Linked DNA regions of Homo sapiens: all the other regions are linked to region 2. The links are contacts of gene promoters, found by promoter capture Hi-C in blood cells and fetal thymus (Javierre and others, 2016). All regions are on one chromosome and are shown on one strand. Each heading gives the region's core, a stretch centred on a gene start or on the middle of the fragment in contact. The rest is flanking DNA. Distances are from core to core; before and after follow the strand shown. Region 1 overlaps ABCC5 (ATP binding cassette subfamily C member 5). Region 2 holds the start of EIF4G1 (eukaryotic translation initiation factor 4 gamma 1). Region 3 has its middle 14 kb from the start of MIR4448.

Evidence for each region. The method cuts DNA at HindIII sites, captures the fragments that hold promoters and counts their contacts. A CHiCAGO score of 5 or more calls a contact.
Region 1: a fragment that was not itself captured here is called in contact with the fragment with the promoter of EIF4G1 in region 2 in 1 of 17 cell types (M2 macrophages); the score reaches 6.3 in M2 macrophages.
Region 3: a contact is called between a fragment that was not itself captured here and the fragment with the promoter of EIF4G1 in region 2, in 9 of 17 cell types (M2 macrophages, M0 macrophages, M1 macrophages and 6 more). The highest score is 10.2, in M2 macrophages.

The regions. Positions count from the first base shown.
Region 1 is chr3:183,995,175-183,998,268 of GRCh38, reverse strand. The region is part of intron 2 of ABCC5 (ATP binding cassette subfamily C member 5); the gene reads left to right. Among named protein-coding and RNA genes, the nearest start is that of ABCC5-AS1, 9.6 kb to the left of the region's middle. The HindIII fragment of the contact is 3,012 bases long and covers 1-2,865 here.
Region 2 is chr3:184,312,693-184,315,856 of GRCh38, reverse strand. It overlaps EIF4G1 (eukaryotic translation initiation factor 4 gamma 1), which reads right to left and starts at 1,251. Exons shown (of 33, transcript NM_198241.3): 1 at 1,183-1,251; 2 at 312-368; 3 at 1-94. The coding sequence starts at 60. RefSeq lists enhancers at 1-603, 1,328-1,828 and silencers at 441-1,150, 1,171-1,500. The HindIII fragment of the contact is 4,143 bases long and covers 140-3,164 here.
Region 3 is chr3:183,898,953-183,902,052 of GRCh38, reverse strand. It overlaps the pseudogene CYP2AB1P. Among named protein-coding and RNA genes, the nearest start is that of MIR4448, 14 kb to the right of the region's middle. The HindIII fragment of the contact is 4,315 bases long and covers 1-3,100 here.

The sequences.
Region 1 (3,094 bases), core at 110-2,609, 320 kb after region 2:
CAATAATACTGGAGCACATATCCTGTAATAAAGTTAATTGGGGCAAACTGGGTAGAAGTCTAATTGCTAGGAGCTACATTTTTTTAATCCTGTAACCCCAGGGATAGAATTTATCCTAAATAATCTAGAAGGAGAAAAATAAAACTATAATTGTATATTATACTATTAATAATAAGCAAAAGCTGGGTGTGGAGACTCATACCTGTAATCCCAGCACTTTCCGAAGCCAAGAATGGAGGATTGATTGCTTGAGCCCAGGAGCTCAAGACCAGCCTTGGCAACATAGTAAGAACCCGTCTCTACAAAAAATAAAAAAATTAGCCAGACATGGTGGTAGTGCATGCCTGTAGTCCCAGCTACTCTGGAGGCTGAGGTGGGAGATTGCTTGAGCCAGGGAGGTCAAAGCTGCAGTGAGCTATGATTGTGCCACTGCATTCCAGCCTGGGTGACAGAGCAAAATCCTGTCTCAGACAAAAATAATAATAAGCAAAACAGCTAGAGAATCTAAACAGAAGTGGAATGGGTAAGATCGCCTCAGTGGTATATCATGTAGCATTAATTGATGATATGTAGAATGTAAGGGAAAGAAGGTATTTTGAAGGTGTTTTCATTGACGTTTGAATACTGGGTGCCAAACTCTCTACTATGCCAGAGGCCAGGGATATAAACAAGAGGAAGACAGCTTGCCCTCTAGGAGCTCTTACCAGAAGCATTGGGCTGTGGTGGTATAGGTACAGGGAAGACATAGGAGGAAGGAAGTAAGTTCCCCGACCTTGAAAGAGTCAGGGAAAACTAAAGGAAAGAAGAAATCGTTGAGACAGACCCTAAGATTTATTGGCTAAGTAAATTGGGATAATATAGCTAACATGTATTGAATGTTTATTATATACCCAATATTTTGCTAAGCACTTTTAATTATCCCATTAATTCCTCTCATCCCTATGTGGTAGATGCATGTATCATTGTAAAAATGAGTAAACTGAAACTTAAATCTGTATCTATCTTCTAAAATTCATGTTTGAAATCACTGTATTTACTATGGCTTCCAGCTGTGGGAAAATTCTGCCTGTGGAGATCTTCATACTTTAAGGCCATAAGAAAAAATAGTTTTGTTGGAGTAAGAGAATTATTTTCTCTTGTTTTTATTTTTTATTTATTTATTTTTCATGTTAACATTTGAAAGTTCTTGCCAACAGCTGAATATCTGTTGCTTATTGTTTTGAGAGACCTGTCTCTGAAGGAGGTAGGTGCAAATATGGAGTAGGACAGTGGTTCCTTCAAAGGAGAAGATCCTGTATCATATCCTGTATTTCCATCAGATATTTCATTTTCCTGACTTGGGCAATGTGTAAAGATATGACAACAAGATTGACAATTTGGGAAAACGTTTAGGAAAGAATAACAGGGACAGGATGTGACTTGGAAAGTTCGTTGCTTAGAGTAGCAAGGTTTGATTCTTTTTGATCAACAATATAGACTTTTCCATCCTCTTACTGTGAGAATTTCTACTCCATGCTTTGTTACATGAGAATTCTGAGATTAGTGCTATTTCAACCACTTTTATGGGGGTTTGTTAGGATAAAATTGCACTGAGTGCCTGTTCTAAAACCAAAGGCAGCAGGAGAGCCCTGAGTCTCTGCCATCAGTAGTGCCACTGCAGTACTCACGAGAAACCTGGGGAATGAAGACTTGCCTGGCAGCTTTCATTTGAATCTTTTTAAAAAGAGCCTTTGATTTTGATGTTTTCCAATATAGGAAGTAACTTACTACCTAGGAGGTGGTGAAACATGACATAGTTATATATAGTAAAAAGAACAAAAACCATGCAATCAGAGGATTTTAAAAATATTAAGTCCATTTAGTTTTCTATGAATAGGTTTTAGTGAAAACTGTCACTAGGCATTTTAGAAATGAAGAAAATGAAATCAGTGTGTTATACACATAGGAACTGGCATTTTTTTGGTTCCCACCATCTGGAATAGTCTTACAGATCGGAGGCACTCGGTAAGTTATTTGTGGAAAGAATGGATGAAAGCTGTGAAGATTCTGGTTTCCTATTAATGCTAATATGCCATGCTCATGTAAACATACTGATGGATTGCTTGCCAAGTTTTCCTCTTCTGATGCTTCTCAAACATCAAAGATGTTTATAGAACCCTTCTGGCCGGACACGGTGGCTTACACCTGTAATCCCAACACTTTGGGAGGCCGAGGCAGGCGGATCATGAGGTCAGGAGATCGAGACCAGCCTGGCCAACACGGTGAAACCCCATCTCTACTAAAAATACAAAAAATTAGCCGGGCGTGGTGGCGGGTGCCTGTAATCCCAGCTACTCGGGAGGCTGAGGCAGGAGAATGGAGTGAACCCGGGAGGCGGAGCTTGCAGTGAGCTTAGGTCGCACCACTGCACTCCAGCCTGGGCGACAGAGTGAGACTCTGTCTTAAAAAAAAACAACAACAAGAAAACCCCTTCTAACTCTTGAACTTGGTTCACCTGGAAAAGCAAAAGAACTAGAATAGCTAAAACAATTTTGAAAAGGAAGGATAAAGTTGAAGGCATCACACTATCCAATTTTAAGACTTAGTTTGTAGCTACAGTAATCAAGTCAGTAGTATCAATGTAGGGGTAGACAAATAGATCAATGAAATAGAGTCTAGAAATAGACTCACACAGGCATGGCCAACTTTTCGACATAAGTGCAGCACACCTCACTGGAGAAATGGTAATCTTTTCAACACATGGTACTGGAACAACCGGACATCTGTAGGCAAAAAAGTGAACCTTTGCCGAAACCTTACACTTTATACAAAAATTAACTCAAAATGAACCATAGATTTAAATATAAAATGTAAAACTATAAAGCTTTTAAGAGAGCACATAGGAGAAAATCTTCATGACCTGGGGGTTGGAAGAAGAGTTCTTAGGCATGACACTAAAAGCACAATTGTAAAAGAAAAAAATTGGTAAATTAGACTTCAAAATTACAAACTTTTGCTGCATGAATGGCCCTAATTAGGAGGATGAAACATGGCCATAAAATGGGAGAAAATATTTGCAAATCATATGACAAAGAACTTTAATCCAGAATATATA
Region 2 (3,164 bases), core at 2-2,501:
CTGTGGGAGTCCGGGGGATGGGGCGGGTGGGGGGCCTGTGGACTGTGGAGCTTTGTTCATTTCATTTGGTGCCACATCAGGGTCCCCCCAGCACCTGTTGGGAAAGAGTGGCGCTCAGGAAGAGGAAGGGACCCAAGCTTAAGGCAAATGGGGCGGTGAAAGGGTTGATGCAAGGGCTGGGTCCCATACGGAGTCCCAGAGATGCCAAGAGGGTGAAGCAGAAAAGATACAGCCTGTCCCCACCAACATGCTGTCAAACCCGCATCACTTCCAACCAACCCCTGACCTACTGAAACAGACCCCTCACTCACCCCCTCGATTAAGAACAAGTCCACGGTGCGGCCTACAGGTTCTGGGCATCCGAGGGCCTGGGGTTGGGAGGTGAGGGTATCAACCTGGCTCCGCGGGGCCCCAGACCAACCAGACCGGAAATTCCAGGTCTCGCTGGCACCAGGCTCCCGGATCACGAACGGAGCTAGCTGCTTCGGCCGTGGCGTCCCCACCCCCCACCCGGGGACACCGGGTTCGGGCCTGGCCCAGGGGCACACAGGATACGCCTGCCGCCGGGGAACCCGCACTGGGCCAGAAGCTAGGCCTGCCGCCGCCCAGGAGTGTAGGCCAGGAAGGGCGGGAGTCAGGCCCTAAAAGGCCAGGCGGGCGGCGGCCGTCGAGGAGCCGGTTTCAGGCAAGTGAGGGTCGGCCCGGAGGGCGGGCGGGGCCGGGGGCTCCTCCCTGCCCGCCGCCACCGCCTCCCTCCCCTGCGCCCTCCCTGCGCAGCGCGGGCCAGTGCCAAAGAACAACGTGTCACTTCCCGGCGGCCTGGCCGCGAAGGGGGGAGGGGGCGGCGGGCCGGGAGCCGTGGTGCCTGCGCCCGTGGGCTGCCGGGCCTCCTCGGGTCAGGCCGAGGTGGCATTTCGCGGCGACGAACCCGGCGCCCTACCAGCCCGCGGGGCCCGCATAGTCCGGCCCTGCGCTCCCCACCCCCACCCAGCAGCCAGGCCCGGCCGGGCCAGGCACACGTGGGCCGGGGATCGGGACCCTGGCGGGCCGGGGCCCTGGGTCGGGCCGCGGGGCCAGGGCGCCGGGGCGGCGGCGCAGGGTGGCCGGTCCCGGCCCGGATGGCGGCGGATGCGGGGGGAGGGGGTGGGGGGGCCGGGTCGGGCCCGGACATGGCGGCTTTACCTTCAGTCTCCTTCAGTCCGCGCGGCCGAGCCCCACGCAGCCGCACAGACGTAGTCCACAACCATTTCCGGCTCCCCGCACAGATCCCGCTCGGCGGCCACCGCTTCTCCGCAGGCGCAGCCGGCGCCCCCACGTGACCGGCGCAGGGGGCGGAGCCGCGCCGGGCGATCTGCGCCGCCGAGCACATGGGATTTGCCCCCGCCCCGTCACGTGACAGCCACAGCCCGCCCCCGTGTCCCCTCCCGAACTTTGAAACTCCCAGACCGATTCCCCTCTGTGTTTCTCTCTGTTCCGCGATTCTTTAGTTCATTCATATTTTAAGCAACCATTTATTGAGTGCATGCTAAGTACAAGGCGAAGTGCTGGTTGAGGGCTGAGAAACTGAAATCAAAGTCTCGGCAAAAAAAAAAAAAAAATAAGCGGGGCGCGGTGGCTCACACCTTAATCCCAGTACTTTGGGAGGCCGAGGTGGGCGGATCACGAGGTCAAGAGATCGAGACCATCCTGGCCAACATGGTGAAACCCCGTCTTTACTAAAAATACAAAAATTAGCCGGGCGTGGTGGCGCACCCGTAGTCCCAGCTACTTGGGAGGCTGAGGCAGGAGAATTGTTTGAGCCCGGGAGGCAGAGGTTGCAGTGAGCGGAGATTGTGCCACTGCACTCTAGCCTAGCCTGGCGACAGGGCGAGACTCCATCTCAAAAAAAAAAAAGAAAGAAATTAAAGACTCCGTCCTGCCTAAGTAAATCGTGATACAATACGAATTATGCAGGCTTTGAAAATAATTTAGATTAGGTCATTGAAAGGCCAATAACAAAGGAAATTAAAAGGATAGAAACATTCTAATTAGGCAAGTAGTATGAGATTTGTAGTTTAAAAAGATCATGGGCCGGGCGCAGTGGCTCACGCCTGTAATCCCAGCACTTTGGGAGGCCGAGGCGGGCGGATCACGGGGTCAGGAGATCTAGACCATCCTGGCCAACATGGTGAAACCCCGTCTCTACTAAAATACAAAAAATTAGCTGGGCCTGGTGGCGCACGCCTGTAGTCCTAGCTACTCGGTAGGCAGAGGCAGAGAATTGCTTGAACCCGGGAGGCGGAGGTTGCAGTGAGCCGAAATTACGCCACTGCACTCTAGCCTGGCGACAGGGTGAGACTCCATCTCAAAAAAAAAAAAAAAGAAAGAAAAAAAGAAATTAAAGACTCAGTCCTGCCTAAGTAAATCGTGATACAACACGAATTATGCAGGCTTTGAAAAGAATTTAGATTAGGTCCTTGAAAGGCCTATAACAAAGGAAATTAAAAGGATAGAAACATTCTAACTAGGCAAGTAGTATGAGATTTGTCGTTTAAAAAGTTAGAAACATTCTAACTAGGCAAGTAGTATGAGATTTGTCGTTTAAAAGGATCATGGGCCGGGCGCGGTGGTTCACGCCTGTAATCCCAGCACTTTGGAAGGCCGAGGCGGGCGGATCACGGGGTCAGGGCGGATCACGGGGTCACCATCCTGGCCAACATGGTGAAACCCCCATCTCTACTAAAATACAAAAAATTAGACGGGTCTGGTGGCGTGCGCCTGTAGTCCCAGCCACTCAGGAGGCAGAGGCAGAAAACTGCTTGAACCCGGGAGGCAGAGCTTGCAGTGAGCCAAGATTGCGCCACTGCACTCTAGCCTGGATGACAGTGAGACTCTGTCTCAAAAAATAAAAATAAAAATAAAAAATAAAGGCAGGCACGGTGGCTCACGCCTGTAATTCCAGCACTTTGGGAGGCCAAGGCAGGCAGATCACCTGAAGTCAGGAGTTCGAGAGCACCCTGGCCAACATGGTGAAACCTCATCTCTACTATAAATAGAAAAATCAGCCAGATGTGGTGGCAAGCACCTGTAGTCCCAGCTAGTGGAGAGGCTAAGGCAGGAGAATCGCTTGAACCTGGGAGTTGGAGGCTGCAGTGACCTGAGATCACAACTGCATTCCAGCCTGG
Region 3 (3,100 bases), core at 317-2,816, 410 kb after region 2:
TGCATTGGCACGATCACGGCTCACCACAGCCTCTATCTCCCAGCTCAATCGATCTTCCCACCTCACCCTCCCGAGTAGCTAGGACTACAGGCATGAGCCCCCATGCCTGGCTAATTTTCGTTGTTTTTGTTGTTGTTGTTGCTTTGTTTTTTTGCAGAGATGCAGTTTCACCATGTTGCCCAGGTTGGTCTCGAGCATAGTTGAAGATGATAGCTCTCTGGTGATCCAGCTTGAGATAGCTTTCCGAGCAGATTTTTGACGTGAGCTGGACAATAACATGAGGACACCTGCTCTTTGCCCAGGCTTGCTGTGTGCTGAGGGCTTTGTGCCCACGGTGTCATTCGGTACAATGGTGCTCTGTATTGTTGACGGAGCCTTGCAGATCCTAGATGACAGATGTTGAATTACTTACCTATCTTACTGTGTAACAAATTACCCCAAAACTTAGTGGCTTAGAACAACAGCATTTATCATTTCACAGTTTCTGAGGGTTAGGAAAATGGGTGTGGCTCAGCTGGATGCCTCTGACTCAAGGTCTCTCATGAGGTTACCATCAAGTTGTTGTTGGGGCTACAGTGTCACCTGAAGACTCCCCTAGGGGAGGCTCCACTTCAAGCTCACTTACATGGAGGTCTTCAGGACCCGGTTGCTCATGAACTGTTGGCTGGAGACCTTCAGTTCCTTGACACATGGGCCTCTGCATAGGGTAGCTCAAAACATGGCAGCTGAACCCCATCAGAGAGAGCAAGCAAGAGGGCACCCAAAATAGAAGCAATGGTCTTTTTGTAACCTAATCTTAGATGTGATATCCCATTGCTTTTGCCATATTCTTTTTTTTTGAGACAGAATCTCGCTCTGTCACCCCAGGCTGGAGTGCAGTGGTGCAATCTCAGCTCAGTGCAGCCTCTGCCTCCTGGGCTCAAGCAATTCTCCTGCCTCAGCCTCCCGAGTAGCTGTGATTACAGGCATGTGCCACCATGCCTGGCTAATTTTTGTATATTTTAGTAGAGATGGAGTTTACCATGTTGGCCAGGCTGGTCTTGAACTCCTGACCTCGAGTGATTGGCCTGCCTCAGCCTACCAAGGTGCTGGGATTACGGGTGTGAGCCACCGCACCCGGCCGCTTTTGCCATATTCTATTTGTTGGGTTTGTTGTTGTTGTTGTTGTTGGTTTGAGACAGTGTCTCCCTCTGTTGCCTGGGTTGGAGTGAAGGGACACAATAATAGCTCACTGCAGCCTCAACCTCCCAGGCTTGGGTGATCCTCCCACCTCAGCTGCCTGAGTAGCTGGAACTACAGGCACCACATTGTGCCACCACAATGGGCTAATTTTTAAATTTTTGGTAGAGATGGGGTTTCACCATGTTGCCTAGGTTGGTCTCAAATTCCTGGGCTCAAGTGATCCTCCCACCTTGGCCTTCCAGAGTGCTGGGATTCCATGCATGAGCCACTGCGTCTGGCCCATTTTCTATTTGTTAGAAGTGAGTTACTAAATCCATCCTATCCTCAAGGGGAGGGGATTACACAAAGGTGTGTATCCTGGGAGTCAAGGCTAACTGGGGTAACTATCGGGGAATCTGTCCCGATAGTCACGTAGGTTCTTTTCTGTTTTTCCTAAGCGTCGGCCAGCTTGAGAAATAAAGGGACGAGTACAAAAGAGAGAAATTTTAAAGCTGGGCGTCTGGGGGAGACATCACGTGTCGGTGGGTTCCGTGATGCCCCACAAGCCGCAAAAACCAGCAAGTTTTTATTAGGGATTTTCAAAAGGGGAGGGAATGTGCAAATAGGTGTGGGTCACAGACATCAAGTACTTTACAAGGTAATGGAATATCACAAGGCAAGTGGAGGCAGGGCAAGATCACAGGACCACAGGACTGGGGCAAAATTAAAATTGCTAATGAAGTTTCGGGCACCATGGTCATTGATAACATCTTATCAGGAGACAGGGTTTTGAGAGCAACTGGTCTGACCAAAAATTTATTAGGCGGGAATTTCCTCTTCCTAATAAGCCTGGGAGTGCTATGGGAGACTGGGGTCTATTTCACCCCTATAGCCTCGACCATAAGAGACAGGCACACCTAGGGGGGCCGTTTATAGGCCTATACCCCCAGGCGCGTATTCTCTTTCCCAGGGATCTTCCTTGCTGAGAAAAAGAATTCAGTGATATTTCTCCCATTTGCTTTTGAAAGAAGAGAAATATGGCTCTGTTCCACCCGGCTCATCGGTGGTCAGAGTTTAAGGTTATCTCTCGTATTCCCTGAACAATTGCTGTTATCCTGTTCTTTTTTCAAGGTGCCCAGATTTCATATCATTTAAACAGACATGCTCTACAATTTGTGCAGTTAATGCAATTATCACAAGGTTCTGAGGCAACATACATCCTCCTCAGCTGACAGGATTAAGAGATTAAAGTAAAGACAGGCATAGGAAATCACAAGGGTATTGACTGGGGAAGTGATAAGTGTCCATGAAATCTTTACAATTTATGTTTAGAGATTGCAGTAAAGACAGGCATAAGAAATTATAAAAGTATTAATTTGGGGAACTAATAAATGTCCGTGAAATCTTCACAATCCAGGTTCTTCTGCCATGGCTTCAGCCAGTCCCTCCGTTCGGGGTCCCTGACTTCCCGCAACAGGTAACATACCAACATGTGTAGGTGGTGAGGTTGCCATTTTAATGAAAATGAAACAGAGCGACTCATCTTGGTGCCCTGGTGCAGGGTGATGCCTCTGTACATAGAGGTGGTGGCGGGAGCCCTGAGACTTTCCTCGGAAAGGAGCTTTGGCTCTGCCCCGAGTACTGCCCTGGAGTACAGTGGTGTGATCTCAGCTCACTGCAGCCTCCACCTCCGGGGCTCAAGCAATTCTCCCACCTCATCCTCCCAAGTAGCTGGTATTACAGGCACGTGCCACCACGTCCAGCTAATTTTTATTATTTTTATTTTTTTTTTAATTTGTAGTAAAGACGGGGTTTCACCAGGTTGGCCAGGCTGGTCTTGAACTCCTGCCTCTGCCTCTCAAAGTGCTGGGATTACAGGCATAAGCCGCCATGCCCAGCCCCATTATTAACTTATTATTAATTTGCCCAGACTTGAGGT